Linked DNA regions of Homo sapiens: all the other regions are linked to region 2. Evidence: promoter capture Hi-C in 16 types of primary human blood cells and fetal thymus (Javierre and others, 2016). All regions are on one chromosome and are shown on one strand. Each heading gives the region's core, a stretch centred on a gene start or on the middle of the fragment in contact. The rest is flanking DNA. Distances are from core to core; before and after follow the strand shown. Region 1 overlaps SLC25A17 (solute carrier family 25 member 17). Region 2 holds the start of ZC3H7B (zinc finger CCCH-type containing 7B). Region 3 holds the start of LOC124905157 (small nucleolar RNA U13).

Region 1 (2,700 bases), core at 125-2,624, 490 kb before region 2:
AAAGACTCCTATCTTTCATTTCAAAAAGCACTTTGACAACAGGGACCAGATGTTTTTCCAGATAAAGACACAACCAAGCATGCTCTTCCACTATCAGTCCTTACCAGAAGACTCTGTGACCATAAAAAGAACAGGACTTAAAAAACTCAAAATGGTCTTAACAGACACTGTCTTGCTGTCACTTGTTATAAAAGCCTGATATCTGTGTCCAAAGGCTCTGCCCACATCAAGGATTCTTTCTTACAAGACCAACACACTGCCATGATGAAACCAGGATACTTGTCTATATCACTCTCCCCGGACTGGTTAGGTAACCCTTTTTCCTCACCCTTTTCTCTTGATGTTCAATGTTACTTTGTTGCAGAATGTTTAATCTACATCATTTATGTATTAATTAGGTATACTATTATATATGATTTACAATATTGACTGACTACCTAGTGAATGAGAAGTACTAATAAAAATTGCCTCCTTGAGAACTCCATGTAACTTGTCTTTTATAACTGAAATAACACAATAAAAGTCTGACATTGTGAAAAGACACAAATGTGTGTGTACCTGGTTATCCATGACCTTAAACCATTCACAATAGTAGATTAAGCTGTTAGGAAGTCAGAGTTGACCTTTGGAAGAACAGTTCCAGTGGTCAAAGTAGGATGAGGAAAGGCAGTACGTGCAGAATATATATATATATATATATATATATATATATATATTGTTGTTGTTGTTGTTGTTTTGTTTTGTTTTGGTTTTTTTTGTTTTTGAGACGGAGTCTTGCTCTGTCGTCCAGGCTGGAGTGCAGTGGCGCAATCTTGGCTCACTGCAAGCTCCACCTCCCGGGTTCATGCCGTTCTCCTGCCTCAGCCTCCCGAGTAGCTGGGACTACAGGCGCCTGCCTCCATGCCCGGCTAATATTTTGTATTTTTAGTAGAGATGGGGTTTCACCGTGTTAGTCAGGATGGTCTCGATCTCCTGACCTCGTGATCTGCCCGCCTCAGCCTCCCAAAGTGCTGGGATTACAGGTGTGAGCCACCACACCCGGCCCAGAATATTCTTTAAATAAGCTTAGCACAAAGGGAAAGAGAACAGGCAGAGGCTGAAGAAGCTACCAGATTCCAGATCAGATTGGTATAGTTTTCTGATGGGACAGACCTGACCATGTTTGAGGGCTGAACAGAAGCAGATACTAGGTTAAAGCTATAGGAAAGAGATGAAAATTACTGGAGCAAAGTCCTGGAAGAAAACTGGCCATGGGCTGGAGGGGAGGACAAAGATTGAAGGTAGCAGACACTGAATATGTCTATTTTTCCTCTGAGACCAGCAGAATGTAGAAAACACGAGTACAACTGTAATTGGAAAAAACTGAAAAAACTCATCCCAAGTAGGTTCTATTTTATCTAGAGAGTAAAAGGTAAGATCATCTGCAACAAGTGAAGGGAATGGGTGGAGATGGCCATGAGGCAAGAGAACATTTCAATTCCCTTAAATTTCTAAAACTAGGTATAAGTGCTGTATTTGCAAGAATATACTTGAGACAGAAATGAATAATTATGGTCTTACTACAACGTTCCATTATGCTAGATGCTCCACAAATATAATCACATTTACTTCCCACAAGAACCCAGTTAAGTGAGGCATTGTTATTGTCCCTGTTTTATAGTTCGATTGATGATGGCATTCATAGTTAAGCTTTACTACAGAACCTTTTTTTTCAGCTATTATGCCATATTTGCTTCTTAAAAAATTAAGTTATACAATACTATGTATGACGATATAATTTCATTAATCGTTTTTGATTCAGGCATAAACAAAGTTAGAAAAGTAATTCCAGGCCAGGCGCAGTGGCTCACGCCTGTAATCCCAGCACTTTGGGAGGCCAAGGCAGGCGGATCACCTGAGGGCGGGAGCTCAAGACCAGGCTGACCAACATGGAGAAACCCCGTCTCTACTGAAAATACAAAATTAGCCAGGCGTGGTGGCACATGCCTGTAAACCCAGCCACTCGGCGAGAGGCTGAGGCAGGAGAATCGCTTGAACCCAGGAGGCGGAGGTTGTGGTGGGCCGAGATTGCATCACTGCACTCCATGCACTCCAGCCTGGGCAACAAGAGCGAAACTCCATCTCAAAAAAAAAAAAAGAAAGAAAGAAAGAAAAAGAAAAAAAGAGAAAAATAGGCAACAAGTGAAAAAAAGAAGTATCTTTGTAGATTAAATAGAAATATATTACCACTATTGCCAGTCACTCTCTCTATAGCAGGAGTCAGAAAACTATGGCCTATGGGCCAAATCCAATCTAATATCTGTTTTTGAAAACAGTATTTTATTGGAACACAGCTCTGTCCATTCATTTACTGTCTACAGCTGATTTCACACGACCATGGCAATGTTGGGTAGCTGTGACAACGGTACACAAAGCCTAAAATATTTCCCATCTGCTCTCTTTAAAAAGTTTGCCAATCTCTATGTTCTTTTATAGCACTTAACTGTATCTAAAATTATTCTACTTATTTTTTATTTATTCATTTATTTTTTATTGTTTTTTTTTTTTTTTCTTGAGACGGAGTCTTGCTCTTGTCACCCAGGCTGGAGTGCAATGGCACAATTTTGGCTCACTGCAACCTCTGCCTCCCAGGTTCAAGTGATTCTCCTGCTTCAGCCTCCCGAGTAGCTGGGATTACAGGCGCCCACCACCATGCCTGGC
Region 2 (2,700 bases), core at 98-2,597:
GGTGTCCTGCTGAATCCCCCTTGAATGATGGACAGTCCTCTTCAAGAATATGTGTTCATTATTTCACCAGCAACCTGGGGTGGTGGAATCACCAGACCATTTGCCATCTAGTTCACTTGAGGCAAAATGCAGCAATCCAACTGGCCTCAGCATCCTCATCGATGAAATGAGAGTGATAATAACCATGGTGGTAAATGTGATAAGTTGTCAAGGGTGTTTCATTGTAAATTGCCTAGGGGGTATTGGGAACTCACACACACACACACACACACACACACACACACACACACACACACACACACATATATTTCTGGAGACAGTTTTGCTCTTGTTGCCCAGGCTGGAGTGCAATGGCATGATCTTGGCTCACTGCAACCTCCACCTCTGGGGTTCAAGTGATTCTCCTGCCTCAGCCTCCTGAGTAGCTGGGATTACAGGCACCCACCACCACGCCTGGCTAATTTTTGTATTTTTGTAGAGATGGGGTTTCACCACGTTGGCTAGTCTGGTCTTGAACTCCTGACCTCAGGTGATCCACCCGTCTTGGCCTCCCAAAGTGCTGAGATTACAGGCGTGAGCCACTGCACCCAGCCCTGATTGTCAATATCTAATCAGGTTCCTCATTTTCCACCATTCCCCAGGTGATGTCTGATCACCTTGCCCTGCCTTCAGCAAGAATCTTGTTAGATGGGTTTAAGCGAGAATCCTCTCATCTCTGATGCAGTTTCCTATGCACTGGCGCTCAATCAGTGGATCCTTTCTCCTTCCTCATAAATTCCCAGTTGCCCATGCTGATTTCTGAATTGAGCCCAAATACTCTCCCTGACCGCAAAACCCACTGCAGTGGTCCCTACACCCATCATGATGCCAATAAAGTCGGCCTTGTAGTCTTTAACAAGTGTCATTCAATATTTTTTTTAACATCCTATACATAAAACTCCAGCCAAGTGAGGTCCTGATTCTTCTATGTGTCTCCGGTTCCCATCTATGAGAAGGGCACAACGCAACCAGGGTTTTGGGCAGCCTTCCATGAAAGCACCTGGAAGCCGGAGAAGGGGGGCGGGGGGACTTTTGACACAGATGGGGAAGGGCGGAGGCGCTGGGTTTGAGCAGCATCAGCCCAGAAATGCAGAACTGCCAAAAGAAACCCCCCTAAAAGGCAGGACACTTTTAAAGAAAATAAAGGTGAATTCCAGGCATGAGCTTTCGACGGGGAATGGGGCTTCCCCGACTCGCCCCCACGCCCCCCGCCCTTCTCCCCAGGTGCGCAGCCCGCGCCGCCCACCCCGGGCGCGGCGAGGCGACGGGAGCCGAGCTCTCTAGGACCCGAGGAGGAAGAGCTGCAGGGAGACAGTGCCTCCAGCGGGTGCTGCCGCGAGCGGCCAGCCGAGGGGCTGGAAATGAAAGTAAAGCGCTCCAGAGCCACATGGACGGAGCTGCCGGGGCGGCGGCGCCGGGAGCAGGATGCGGCCGCCCGTAATTAAATAGCATTTACTCTTATTATTACTAATAATAATAACGTAATCATACCTCTAGTCATAGCATACCATTTATCGGGCTCGGCGCAGGCCCGCGGGGAGCGCAGCCCGGCGGAGGTGAGTGCTTGGCGCGGCCCGAGCCCCGCGGGGCAGAGGCCGGGGACACTGCGTCCGGAGCCGCCCGCGCGCGAGGGTTCGGGGACGCCCGGGCCGGGCAGGGCTGGGGAAGAGGCGAAGAGAGCCCTTTCCAGGCCGGGGCCGCGCGCCGGGCCACCTGGAAAGTGGGATTTTGCAAAAAATAAATCGTCTCTAAAACCCCATTTGCTCCTTTTTGGGGATCCCGGTCCCCGTGCCCTGCCCCAAAGTTTAAAAGTTACCGTGTGGCCGGGGGCACCTGGCGCTGGGGAGACTTGGCCGCCCCTGCAGCCCCCAGGAGGTGTCTTGAAATTTTCGTGGGGCCTCTCTCTTCGGCGTCCGGAGCTTCTGGGGTGTCCAGATGCTTTGCCGACCCCGCGCAGGGGGTCTCGGGGGCTGGCAGGGGCGTCGCTGGCAGGGCCCCCCTTCCTTTTGTGTTGTCCTTGGCCCCGCAGCACCCGGAGTTGGAGGGGCCGCGGCGAGGGCCGGGGAGCGGGGCCGCCCGACGGGCCGCCCCTTTCGGCTGCGGCGGCCACGCGAGCCCGGGGATCCGGGGCCTGCAGCCGGGCCCGCGGGAAGGGGGCGGCAGGAAAGGGGGGCGCGGTCTGGGCCTGCTGGGCAGGGGGGCGTTTCCGGTCGCAGGATCAGTCTCTGGACTTCGAGGCCTGTGGGAGGCCCGCGGCCGTCCAGGGAGTGCTAGGGGGCTGCGGACCCCGGCTCTGGCGCCTGGGGACGGGGGCGCCCTGACGGGGCTGGGGGCCTGGGAGCCGCCGACTCCGGCCTCATACCCCCATCCTGCCCGCTGCGAACCTCAGGGCCCCCCTCCGGGTTTGCTCCCTCCTCCTTTCCCCTCCTTTCTCCTCAACTCTGTCTGTTTTAGGCGTTTATAAGGCGCCTGGTTGGGGGGACTTTCACAGACAAAGCCGTCTTCCCAGGGGGGAAAATAATCATATAAAAACAGCTCACTCTGATAGAACCTGATGGCTGTATTGCCAACAGGGCATTGACGGGGAAGACTAGGGGGCTAGGGCCCTGCGTGGGGAGTCTGGGGGCTCTAAAAGGGGGCTGGGCCTGAGTGGGGAGCTGG
Region 3 (2,700 bases), core at 133-2,632, 390 kb before region 2:
ACCTCTTAAGTAGCTGGGACTATAGGCACATTGCCACCATGCCTGACTCACAGACATTTTTTAAAAAATAAAGTTGATTTTTTAAAATACAGAAGTAATATTCAGGTTATGGTAGAAAGCTTGATTGGATTAATCCTCCATAGATAATAATTATAAAATCTGGACAAAATATTAAAAATAACTATTTAAAGGCACTAGAGATCCCTTTGTAGCTCATGAGTGTGATGATTGGGTGTTCACGTGCAGGTATGAGATGTGCTACCCTCAAACCTTCTTACAAGGTCAGCACATTACCCATCTGACATGAAAAAAATCAAAATAAAAGGCACCAGAGAGCTTTCAAAAATAGGCAGAAATTGTACAAGTCCATTCTTTTTTTTTTTTTTTTTTTGAGACGGAGTCTCGCTCTGGCACCCAGGCTGGAGTGCAGTGGCATGATCTCGGCTCACTGCTAGCTCCACCTCCCAGGTTCACATCATTCTCCTGCTTCAGCCTCCCGAGTAGCGGGACTACAGGCACCCACCACCACGCCTGGCTAATTTTTTGTATTTTTCGTAGAGATGGGATTTCACCGTGTTAGCCAAGTACAAGTCCATTCTTAAAAAACTATAATGGGCCAGGCCTGGTGGCTCATACCTGTAATCCCAGGACTTTGGGAGCCCAAGGCAGGCAGAGCACCTGAGGTCAGGAGTTCAGGACCAGCCTGACCAAAATGGTGAAACCCTGTCTCTACTAAAAATACAAAAATTAGCCTGGGAATGGTACTCGGGAGGCTAAGGCAGGAGAATCGCTTGAACCCAGGGGACGGAAGTTGCAGTGAGCTAAGATTGGACTCTGCACTCCAGCCTGGGTGACAGAGTGAGACTCTATCTGAAAAAAAAAAAAAAGAAAAACTATAATGGATAAAAATGGTGATAAGGGCTTTTTGCCTGAGGACATTGCCCAATGCACATAGCTTGGGCGGCAGAAAGCCACAGCCTTATTGATTTAAGATATCAAATGATAGATTTAGGTGCTGACAGAATAGCCAGAAAGATGAAGGAAAATCCTTGACGAGAAGGGCTTGTGGAAACTCTGAGCCCCAAAATCTGCATACAGAATATTTAAAAATCCTTGGCTGATTACTGAACTATGTGTTCTGAGGAGGCCTCATGAGGCTCAGCAAAATACGAGCAGCTAGAAGCAGAATAAACTGAGCAGAGATTTTAGTTGCTTCCCAGTGAGAACAGAGTTTGTAGTTTGAAGCTATCCAAGTTAACAAAATTTCTAGACATGAGAAGAAACTGGTAATTGTGACCTGTAATCAAGAAAATCTGATAATGAAATAATCCTGGCCAGGTGCAGTGGCTCATGCCTGTAATTCTAGCACTTTGGGGGGCCGAGGTGGGCAGATTACTTGAAGTCAGGAGTTCAAGACCAGCCTGGCCAAAATGTGAAACCCTGTCTCTACTAAAAATACAAAAATTAGCTGAGTGTGGTGGCGGGCACCTGTAATCCCAGCTACTCGGGAGGCTGAGGCAGGAATATCGCTTGAACCGGGAAAGGGGAGGTTGCAGTGAGCCGAGATTGTACCACTGCACTCCAGCTTGGGCGACAGAGTGAGACTCCATCTCAAACAAAGGAAAAAAAAAAAGAAAGAAATGATCCTAATGTTCCAATTAGCAGAAAGACTCTAAAGTAGCTGTTATAGATAAGTTAAAGGAAGATGTAGACATAATGAGCAAACAGATGGAGAATCTCAATGAGAAATAGAAACAAAAAAGAACCAGAGATTGTGGGAAGATGGCAGCAGCAGGATAGTTTTTCAAACTTTCCAAATTGTCAAATAAACATAGAGCAACTAGCTAACAAAACCAAACACTAGGTAGTATTTGTTACCTCAAAATAATTACCTCCTAATTCACAAACATTCAGTCTGTAACTGCCCAAAATCTAGACTGATAAACTCTGTATGTCAAGCAGCCTGGATTCTTTAACAAATAAATTACAAGGAAATGAAAAGAGGTGGAGGAGGAGCCTACTAACTAAAAGAGATTTTAGTTATATCAAATATATTACAAATGAACACAAAGAAAATTATCTTGGGGTGAATATTTGGGTGATAAAAATATCTTTAAAACACAAAGGACAGCCAGGCGAGGTGCCTCATGTAATCCCAGCACACTGGGAGGAAAGACAGGAGGATCACTTGAGCTCAGGAGTTCAAGACCAACATGGGCAGCATAGTGAAACCTGGTCTTTACAAAAAAATTAGCCAGGCGTGGTGGCACATGCCTGTAGTCCCAGCTACTCAAGAGGCTGAGGTGGGAGAATTGCTTGAGCCCAGGAGACAGAGGTTGCAGTGAGCCAAGATTGCACCATTGCAATCCAGCCTGGGTGACAGAGCCAGACCCTGTCGCAAAAAAAAAGAAAAAGAAAAAAACCCCACAATGACCAAGCATAGTGGCATGCACCTATAGTCTCAGCTACTCAGGAGGCTGAGGCAGGAGGATCACTTGAGTCCAAGAGTTCTAAGCTGCAGTCCACTATGTTGATCAGGTGTCTGCAACCAGTTAGAGGTTTTTGCACATTACCTAAGGAGGGCTGAACTGGCCCAGGTCAGAAACAGAGCAGGTCACAACTCTCATACTGATCAGTAATGGGAACAAGCTTGTGAATAGCCAGTACACACCAGCCTGGGCAACAGAGCAAGACCCCATC

What was found. Contacts are between HindIII fragments. The CHiCAGO score rates a contact against its expected background, and 5 or more counts as called.
Region 1: a fragment that was not itself captured here is called in contact with the fragment with the promoter of ZC3H7B in region 2 in 1 of 17 cell types (total CD8 T cells); the score reaches 5.3 in total CD8 T cells.
Region 3: a fragment that was not itself captured here is called in contact with the fragment with the promoter of ZC3H7B in region 2 in 2 of 17 cell types (endothelial precursors and total CD4 T cells); the score reaches 5.6 in endothelial precursors.

What each region holds. Positions count from the first base shown.
Region 1 is chr22:40,814,075-40,816,774 of GRCh38, forward strand. The region is part of intron 1 of SLC25A17 (solute carrier family 25 member 17); the gene reads right to left. Among named protein-coding and RNA genes, the nearest start is that of MIR4766, 1.5 kb to the left of the region's middle. The HindIII fragment of the contact is 625 bases long and covers 1,063-1,687 here.
Region 2 is chr22:41,300,178-41,302,877 of GRCh38, forward strand. ZC3H7B (zinc finger CCCH-type containing 7B) reads left to right here and starts at 1,348. Exons shown (of 23, transcript NM_017590.6): 1 at 1,348-1,595. It also overlaps a transcript of RANGAP1 not described here. RefSeq lists silencers at 1,035-1,374, 1,655-1,724 and an enhancer at 1,456-1,957. The HindIII fragment of the contact is 7,155 bases long and covers 1-2,700 here.
Region 3 is chr22:40,914,679-40,917,378 of GRCh38, forward strand. The region is part of intron 7 of XPNPEP3 (X-prolyl aminopeptidase 3); the gene reads left to right. LOC124905157 (small nucleolar RNA U13) reads left to right here and starts at 201; the gene lies at 201-304. The HindIII fragment of the contact is 2,530 bases long and covers 118-2,647 here.